2 separate regions of the Homo sapiens genome follow, and region 1 is linked to region 2. Evidence: promoter capture Hi-C in 16 types of primary human blood cells and fetal thymus (Javierre and others, 2016). All regions are on one chromosome and are shown on one strand. The core of a region is centred on a gene start or on the middle of the fragment in contact, and the rest is flanking DNA. Distances in the headings are between cores, read along the strand shown.

Region 1 (4,485 bases), core at 913-3,412, 210 kb before region 2:
CACTCACCTGGAGATCCAGTCACAGGCTAAGAAGTAAACCAAAAAGATATTACTATTTTACAATCCTTTCTCACCACCACACTTTCCAACTTTTGAGAAATCAAGAATTAAGTCATTTGAACTATCACAGTGGAAAGAACACAGGCTTTAGAGCCAGACACCTCTAGGTTTCTAGTCCCAACTTTTCAACTTACTGGTTAAGCCTAAGCTTTACACATCTATAAAACAGAGGTAATACCACCCAGTTTGTTACGCGTATTAAAGAACACTATATATAAAGTTCTTTCATAGTGGCTGGCATTTCATTTAATAAACAGGTGGTACTACCAACCTGGGGCAAGTTGACTCCTGTCAGCTTCCTCATTTATGAATTACATGAGATAAAATTTGTAAAGCTCCTAGCAAGTTAAAGAAACTTAATAAATAACTCCTCGTGCTCGCTTCAGCAACACATATACTAAAATTGGAACGATACATACATATATATATATACACATATATATATACATATATATATACACACACACACATATATATATACTCTCTCAAGTCTTAATGGAATATGAATTTTGATCCTGTAGTTATTAAACAGCCATTTACCAACAGTTGAGCTGCCAGGAACTTACTTAGAACTGGGAATTTCCTAGTGTAAAAGACAAAAAGACACGGCTCTGGGGGCACGCGCAATACCTGCTTAGCACAGAGTAGAGCCGCTCTAAGTATTTGTTAAATGGGTAAGTGAATGGTTGACGCGACTGAGCAAAACGAATGGATGAATGAATGAATGAACGAGCTCACTGTCTAGCCTAGAAGTCAGACACCGAACCGAAATAACTGCTATATCCCGTTCCAGGCGCTGGGGCTGCTAACTCCAACTCTGTGTCCCGAGGTGAGCCCCCCTCCCCCTACTTCCCATAGTCCTCTCAGCTCAGAACAAACCCAAGGCAAGAAGAACTGGACTGCGCGCCCCAGCCGGCAGTATGACATAAAGAAAAGGGGTGGGGAGGAGGAAGAAGGGGCAGAGCCAAAGGAATCCTCTCCCTCCACAAGCCAGTCCCCGCCTCCCGACAGGATCTTGGAGGCGGCCGGCGACTGCTCGAACCGAGCACCACGTCACGGCATCCCGGCGCGTCCTAGCCAGGGGACCCCAGAGCGGGGCCGCAACGCATCGGAAACCCGGGCAGTAGTTTCCGGAGCCCGCTCGGGGAACCAGGATCTTGTAGGATCCTTCCCCACTCAAGTGTCAAGGAGACAAGCCCGCCCCGCCCCCTCTCCAAACACGCACTCCCTAGCAGCACCACAACAAGAGCAGCCAGCCCAGGCTCCTCACCCGGACCTCTCGGCGCCGGTCCCAATGTCAAGTCCACGACCCAAGCCCCTCTGGGCCAGTAGCTGTTGTCAGGGGTCCCGGCCGGCACCCGCGCCTCACTCCCTCCCCAGCGGAGAGGACAACCGAGAGAGAGTAAGCCAGCGGATACCCAGCCAGACGACCTGGACTCACCGGGAGTCTCCCAGAGCTAAACCCCCAGAGTCCCAGCACCAGGCCAGCCAGAGTCCCCCTGAGTCCACCCCGGGGAGCCCCACGATCCCGTTAGGAAACAACGGAGGATGGGGCTGGGAGCCCCAAGCCGGGCTCCGAATGCTTGGCCCGGCGCTCCTCTAGCCTGGCTGGCCTGCCAGCTCTTCCCAGGACCCTGCCTGAGAGTCACCCACCTGCCCGGCCTTTCGGGGCTCATCTAAAAGGCTCCTCCGCCAAGACTAGGGGACACCAGGAATTGGGTTTGTTTGCGGTGCCTCTGAAGGGGCAAGATGGCGACAGGTAACAGGGCGCAGGCGCAGCCGCGCGCGGCCAGTCGGGAGGTGTAGTTCGCTTTTCCCGCCTTTCGGAGAACAAACACCAAAAGGCCTCCATTCATCTTGTCCTTCTTTTCCTCCGCGTTATGAAAGAAAAGGACAGACATCGCGGAGGGTGCTGGGAGTTGTGGTCCGAATCCAAACTCCAACCTCTTTCGCTCCAGGTTTGCTGTCGTACGCGCAAGGAAGGCCGGGATTGTAGTTCCCTTGGTTTCTCCTGCATACCCTCCTGTCTCTGGCTTCGCGCGCCTCTCCTGGGCTGCCGTCTCCCAGCCAATCGGCTGCGCTCTCTGCTACGTGTGGCGTCACACGTAGCGGCCAAGATGGCGCTAGCGGTTGGAGCAGGGGCTCTGCTGCGACCTTTACGGTAGTGAGGTTAGGGACGATGGGAGAGCAGCTTTGTTCCTGAAGTGCCGTCGAGGATTAGGATCGAGTTTCTTCGATCGTGAGGGCAATTATTAGTGGCCTCTAGCCCCCCAGATGGCATCTTGAGGAGAGAGAATCCACGCTACGAGAACTAACATAGTGGACATCGCAGTTGTCCGTAGCCGATTTGCGGGTTACGGAGTTGTTGCAAGTAAAGAAGGGGAAATCCGAGCGTTCTCGCGTTGGATTTCCTCCACGTGTGAAGTGGGAATGGTAGTGATATCTCGTGCTATCTCTGTCAAGGGCAAGAAGGAGAAGGAATTTATTTGAGGCCCTACGACGTGGTAGGTTCACCCTCAGCCTTTGTTCTTATTTCATCTTATTTGTGGAGAAGGTCTTTTCGTTCCTATTTTACAGGTGAGAAAAGGGGCCCAATATATAGTTATTTGCGGCCATAAAATAGAAGCCAGTTGCCTGATACTGAAGATTCAATGAAATCTTGTGATTGACTTCCCTCTTTAAATTTTGTACTTTGGGTAACATCGGATCCGGTAGAAACGCTCGTCAGAAAGAGTTTTTAATGTGCATTCTACAATTTCCAGACATAGTTTCCTTCTTGAAAAATTGGGTTAATACTACCCTATAGGGATCTTGTGATGCACCACGTAAACGTTGTAAGTTGTGAACCACTATACAAACGTATGAGACTCTTCATGTTCTTGAGTGGAACTGTAGGTTAGGAAGAGAAGGTAAATAACAGCATTTAAGTTTCCTACTACTATTTGCCCATTAGCTAAAAATACCCTCCGAGGTCTAGGAAAGTCACTGTTGTTGAAACCCAACCTACACCTTCAGAAAATCGTAAAGTGGAACATATTAATCACCAGGCCCTCCCTCCGCTGTCTCCCTGACCTTCCTATGCATCCAGTTGCTTAAGAACTCTTGGAAAGATAGTAAGTGAAATCTTCATAGAGGATTTTTGTACTTTAACATATATTATTTGATTTGAGCCTCGCAACATTTCAGTGTGACAGGTACGATTAAGGTCTTTCATACTATGAATGAGAAAAACATAGATGTACCAAGGACTCACCAAATTTCACGGAGCTAGGAATTGGAAGAGAGCTAGGCTTTGTAATCCCAGGTCTTCTGACCTCCAAATGTCCTTTCCTCTACAGTGAATGTCAAAATGACAATGAATGTCTACTCCTCTACAATGGAGTACAAATCGAAAGACAAGGGGCTTATAAAACTGACTCTGACCTTAAGAAGTAGCATATGAGTGATGAATTATTATAGTCAATCCTTGTGCTTACTAAGTGCCACATACTGGTCTAAGCATTTTACATAGTAATTCAGTCCTTAGAACAACTTTATGAGGTGGAAACTTTTATTATCTCTAATTACAAAGGAGGCAACTAAAGTCTAGGAAAGAAGCAAAATAGCTTGCCTAAAGTCACACATAAGTAAATGGTGGCTCACGCCTGTAAACCCAGCACTTTGGGAGGCTGAGGCAAGTGGATCATTTGAGGTCAGGAGTTCAAGACCAGCCTGGCCAACATGGTGAAAGCCCACCTCTACTAAAAATACAAAAATTAGCTGGGCATGGTGGCATGTGCCTGTAATCCCAGCTACTCGGGAGGCTGAGACAGGAGAATTGCTTGAACCAGGGAGGTGGAGGTTGCAGTGAGCCAAGATCGCTCTACTGCATTCCAGCGTGGGCAACAGAGCAAGACTCCATCTTAAAAAAAAAAAAAAAAAAAAAAGCTAAAGCTGGGATTTAAACCTGATTATGTTGGCTCCAGAGCCTATGCTCTAGACCAGTGGTTCTAAACTTTAATGGTCAATAGGAACCGCTTGAGGATCTTGTTAAAACGCAAATATTGGTAGTATAGATATCAGGTAAGGCCTGGATCCTATAGTCTTAACAGGCCCCCAGGTGATGTTGATGGTGCTGGTCATTACATACTACAGTTCACATCTTCCCTTTTCTCCTAACCGTATTTATTTTGCAGTCAGAAACTACCTTTCCCATGCTGCCTGTGACTGCTTTATAGTCTCAAATGTTCCCAACATGCTCTTCCTTAAGGATTAGACTCAAACTTTTTCCTCAAAAAGCTTATCCTGCCCCTGTCTTTCCCTCTAGGATAAGACAGACATCCCTGCCTCTGCTCCCCTACCACTCAGTGTACACCTTGTTACAGAGCTCAGAACACTGAATTATGGCCATTTATTTGAAAATCTTCCTGGCCGGGCATGGTGGCT
Region 2 (4,537 bases), core at 890-3,389:
CAGCACGTGGGGCGCCTGGCACGGTTTCCCGTGCTTCGCCTCTGCGTCCACGGTCCATGGGTTCTAGGCTCCCCGAGAAGCCTCTGTGGGGAACAGGGGTGCCAGACCCACTCCGAGAAACGGGTTCCATGGAGCTCTTCCACCTCGTGACTCAGTGTCCTTGGGACACGTAGCCAATGTGTTCAGCATGCCCCCCTGGTGAAAACGGGGTCACAAGGTCTGCCTTCTTGCCTGCCAGAGAGAATTGGGAGCTCCCCACCACCGCGCCCTGTCCCCCGTAGGAGAGCGGAAGGTAGTGGCTGTGCTGGCCTCCATCACAAGGCTACTAGCAGTGCAGAGCCAGCGGTGCAGATCAGTCCAGCCAATTTCCGTTGCGCTCTCTCTCCCTCCCCACCCCTTTCCACCCCCCACACACCCTGACTTCAAGATGAGGAAACTGAGACTGTGACGCCCTGGAAGGACTTTTGCCCAGTGGCCCTTTTCCAAACTCCTTTCAGCTATGTCCTGCGCCTTCAGGAGCTGGCTGGAGCCTCACGTTTCCTTATTCCCAGGTCTGAGGATGTGCGGGCAGGAAGAAATACCTTCAGTCAGTCGCTGGAAGCCTTTGTAAAGCTTCTTTCACTCCACAACACACTTCCACTGGCGCCTGCTCTGCCCCACCCCCGGGCTGGGCCCTGGGGACACTGATGAGTCAACCCTGCCTCCTGAACCCCCTGCCCAGTGGTTGCCACACTGGCTGCACCCTCTGCCTAGCCCAAGGCTGTGGACTGGTCTGCAAGGAGCTCAGTCTGGGCCCTGGCGGACTGTGGTTACTGCTAAATGAGGCTATGGCCTGGACACACACCCAGGACCTTACATCCTCTGCCCGGGCCTTCTGTGCCTCCAGACAGGCCTTCCCCATGGACAGTCCCACACCCACAGTCTCTTCAAACCCTGCGGTGGCTCCACCCTGGGAGCAATGGCTGAGCTCTTTACCTGCCACCTGGGCTTTCTGAGGCCTGACCCCTCCCCACTCACCTCTCTTCAGGCCCTCCTCACTCCGTGAACACTCCAGCCATGGCTCCAGTGGAAGCTGCTCATTCCAGCTGGGGCTGCCCCCAGCTTCCTGCACATTCCAGGCCTTGCGGTTTCTGCACCACCACCTCCACCTCCAGGCAGACACCTCTCCAAGTGCCCCCAGCCCCTGCACTCCCTGTTGCCTGGATGCCTGACCCCTGCACACATCTGTGTCTCTACCCACAAGAGTGTGAGGGAGGGTTCCCTGAGGAGTGGCCATGTCAGCACAGGGCCCAATGCAGATGACCTGTAAAGCGTTTGTTGAATGAGTGGTACTTTGTCTTTCTGTAAAACCCAAAGCCAAAAAAAGACACCGTAACAGCTCAAAGCCTGGCGTGAGTCAGAGGTTCAAGGCTTGCTTGCCCCCTCCATTGGCACAAAATGCCTGTCAGCCAAGAAACTTCTTAGGGAGGTGGTGGGATTCTTTGGTCCCTCTGCCAGAGCTGGGACCCTTGGAGATGACCTCACTAGCCAGTGGGGTAGCAGGGCAGGAAGGGCTCCAGTAGGTGAGAAGGTGACTTTCCAACCAGAAAAGTTCTGGCTAAGAGGCCTGCGTGGAGCAAGTAGGCTCAAGAATGTCAGGGAGGCAGGGCACGGGGTGGCTCACGCCAAGGCGGGCAGATCACTTGAGGTCAGGAGTTTGAGACCAGCCTGGCCAACATGGCGAAACCCCATCTCTACTAAAACTACAAAATTAGCCAGGTGTGATGGCATGCCTTTAATCCCAGCTACTTGGGAGGCTGAGGCATGAGAATCGTTTGAACCTGGGAGGCGGAGATCGCGCCACTGCACTCCAGCCAGCCTGGGTGACAGAGTGAGACCCTGCCTCAAAAAAAAAAAAAAAAGAATGTCAGGGCACAGAGGCCAGAGTATGCAGGACCACCCTAGGGGGGCAGGAGGGCTGCATGTGCCTCTCCCCAGAGTTTGCTGAAAGGAAAGGGGTGTGTGTGTTGGGGGGCGTGTGGGGGGCTTGGGGTCAAGGAGAGGGGGTTGTCTGTCTGCCTGCTGAGCCAGGAGGTGGGATATTGGAACCATCAGGCCTGAAGACCACTCCTCCAGGCATCTCTGAGCGGCTGAGGGGTCCCTGAGTAGATGGTGTGATCTAAATATTTAGGCCCCTCGCTCTTCTCTTTCCACTCTGGGAGGACCCAAGCCTCCACAGATGCAGGGTTATGATGGATACCACGTGCTTGACAGTGCTGGAGAAGAGGCCTGGACCTGGCCAAGCAGGGGAACTTGGAGCAGAGGGGAAGGGGCAGGGAGACAGGGAGGAGGGGAGAGGGTGGTCTTCCTCTACACACACCCTTATTTATACTGTTCTTCCTGCAGGCAGCCCCGCGCGGGGGCAAGGGGTGACACATAGAGAGAGAAGGGCCCACGGGTTCCCAAGGTGCCCCGGGTCCAGGGGGCTGTGATGCAGAGAGGAGAGGGTGAATGGGGTGGAATGGAAGGAGGGGAGAGAGCTGGGAGCTGAGGTGAGAGCAGGGCGGGGCCAGGGGAGAATGAAAACCCAGCCTGTTGGTGGTTTCTTCTTTTTTTCTTAAGAGCCACAGGCTGAGATCAAAGGTGATATTTTTACAGCAACTGAAATAGAAAACCACTGGGCGCACAGTGGGAGGTGAGCAGCCAGCACACAGGCCCCTTTATGCAGCCTGTGGCCACAGCAAGCACGCTGCCCTCTGCCATGGGGTGTGGGGGACAGTGTGGTGGGGATCTTCCCAATTCAGGTTCAGAGAAGATGTGAAGGGGATGAGCCACAACCCTCGGGGCTGAGAGAGGAGAGAGAGAGCCATGAAGGATCACTAGAGTCCAACATCCTTTCTGCTCCGTGCATTCACTCACCTGCTCACTCACCGGATCATGTATGGAACTAGCTGGCCCCCGCATACCAGGAGCCATACCCAGGCCCACCACAGCAGTGGGTCTCCGAGTGTGGGCCCCACACCAGCAGCTTCAGCGTGACCTGGAACATGCTAGAAATGCACATTCTCAGGCCCCAACCCAGACTTAATGCTCCAGTGGGCCCAGCCCTTAGGATTTTAACAAACTCTCCATGTGACTCTGCACACTCAGTTGGAGAATCACTGTGCTGCATGACCTCAGTTTCCACATTGCTACTTTGGGAAAAACAACACGTGTCTCACAAGGTCGAGCCCAGTGTTAGCTAACACACGTGCTAGATGCACCCCCTGTGCCAGGCATCCTTCTAATCCCTTTATAACGCACCTAACTCTACACCAACTCTGAGATAGGAACTAATATTATCCTCATTTATTTCCTCAGATGAGGAAATGCAGGCACAGAGAGGCACAGTAACTTGGCCAGGGTCACACAGCTAGTAGGTAGCAGAGCTTTGGCATCCACGCTTTTTAAAGCTCCCCGACAAAAAGCCTCTGGCAGTGAGTCTGGCTCCCAGAATGTGTTCTGGGCATGGCTGAGAATGTGATGATGACAGTTAGCATTACCTCACCTGAACTTGTGATGATGATCCCCATTTTGTAGATGTGAAATCTGCTGCCTTGTCAAGATCAGGGAGTAAGTCAGCTGCAGAGGCAGCCTGAGTGTCTGAAACCCATGTGGCCACAGGCCCTCACCATTCACAAAGCTTGGAGATCACAATATATACCATTCTGGTCTTCTAGAAACATCCCAGCATGTTGCAGGTGGAGTGTGGGCTCTGACAGAGGTGGGCTGGAACCCTAGTTTGGCCACTCAGGGGCTGTGTAACCTTGAGCAAATCATCTCCCCTCTCTGAGCCTCTGTTTCCTCCTGTGAAGTGCTTGGTGACAGTCCTCACCTCAGGAACTTTGTGGGGTTCCTGTGAGGGTTGGAGAAGATGACATTTGTACCCAGCCCAGAGTGTGCGTGATTGGCTATCAGAAAGCAGCTTGTCCCTCTCTCTTCCCCCTTCCTGCTGCTACCTTGGTAGAAACACCAGCTCAGGACCCAGAAAAGTCCTGGGAGAAGAAGAACTAAGTTCCCAAGTGATGGAAATGCATCTGTCCTCCAGCTTGTCTGTCCTTTTCCGGATCTTGAAACAACTGCCCTGGCTGGGGTTTGGGGGTTAAACACTGGCACCTGCTGTGCCCAGTGCAAGTCAGGAGTGGGGTAACCTGTGAAGGGAGGGGAGGTGTCCTCTCCGAGCCATCCCCACTGGCCAGGCATCCTAAATCAGCCAAAGCATCTGAGCTTCTGCCTGCTGCAAGACCGAGTCTGGCCCCGGCATCTGAAGCTCATTAGCGGCCTGCTCCCCAGGGGCTGACCCTGCTTGGCGAGAATTACCCCAGACAGAGTCACAGAGCAAACGAAGACCAGGTGAGGTGTGGCCATGAGGGGCTGGGGGGACGTATGGTCTCCCAGAGGCTCTGGGGACCCCCAGAGAGCAGGGGAGGCTGGAGAAACAGCCACAGACTCACTGGCTGTGCAAAGGGGCAGCTTCCTTTTTGGGCCTCAGTTCCCCGACATGTACATCCCTGGAGGA

What was found. The method cuts DNA at HindIII sites, captures the fragments that hold promoters and counts their contacts. A CHiCAGO score of 5 or more calls a contact.
Region 1: the fragment with the promoter of EMSY-DT here is called in contact with a fragment that was not itself captured in region 2 in 1 of 17 cell types (total CD8 T cells); the score reaches 5.7 in total CD8 T cells.

The regions. Positions count from the first base shown.
Region 1 is chr11:76,442,357-76,446,841 of GRCh38, reverse strand. It overlaps EMSY-DT (EMSY divergent transcript), which reads left to right and starts at 2,162. Exons shown (of 2, transcript NR_186348.1): 1 at 2,162-2,564. EMSY (EMSY transcriptional repressor, BRCA2 interacting) reads right to left here and starts at 1,824. Exons shown (of 22, transcript NM_001300942.2): 1 at 1,714-1,824. RefSeq lists enhancers at 823-1,117, 1,257-1,326, 1,367-1,416, 1,617-1,846, 1,547-2,183 and 1 more. The HindIII fragment of the contact is 4,130 bases long and covers 211-4,340 here.
Region 2 is chr11:76,230,375-76,234,911 of GRCh38, reverse strand. No RefSeq gene overlaps it. Among named protein-coding and RNA genes, the nearest start is that of TRP-AGG2-4, 2.9 kb to the left of the region's middle. RefSeq lists enhancers at 1-426, 974-1,520, 4,360-4,537. The HindIII fragment of the contact is 3,049 bases long and covers 615-3,663 here.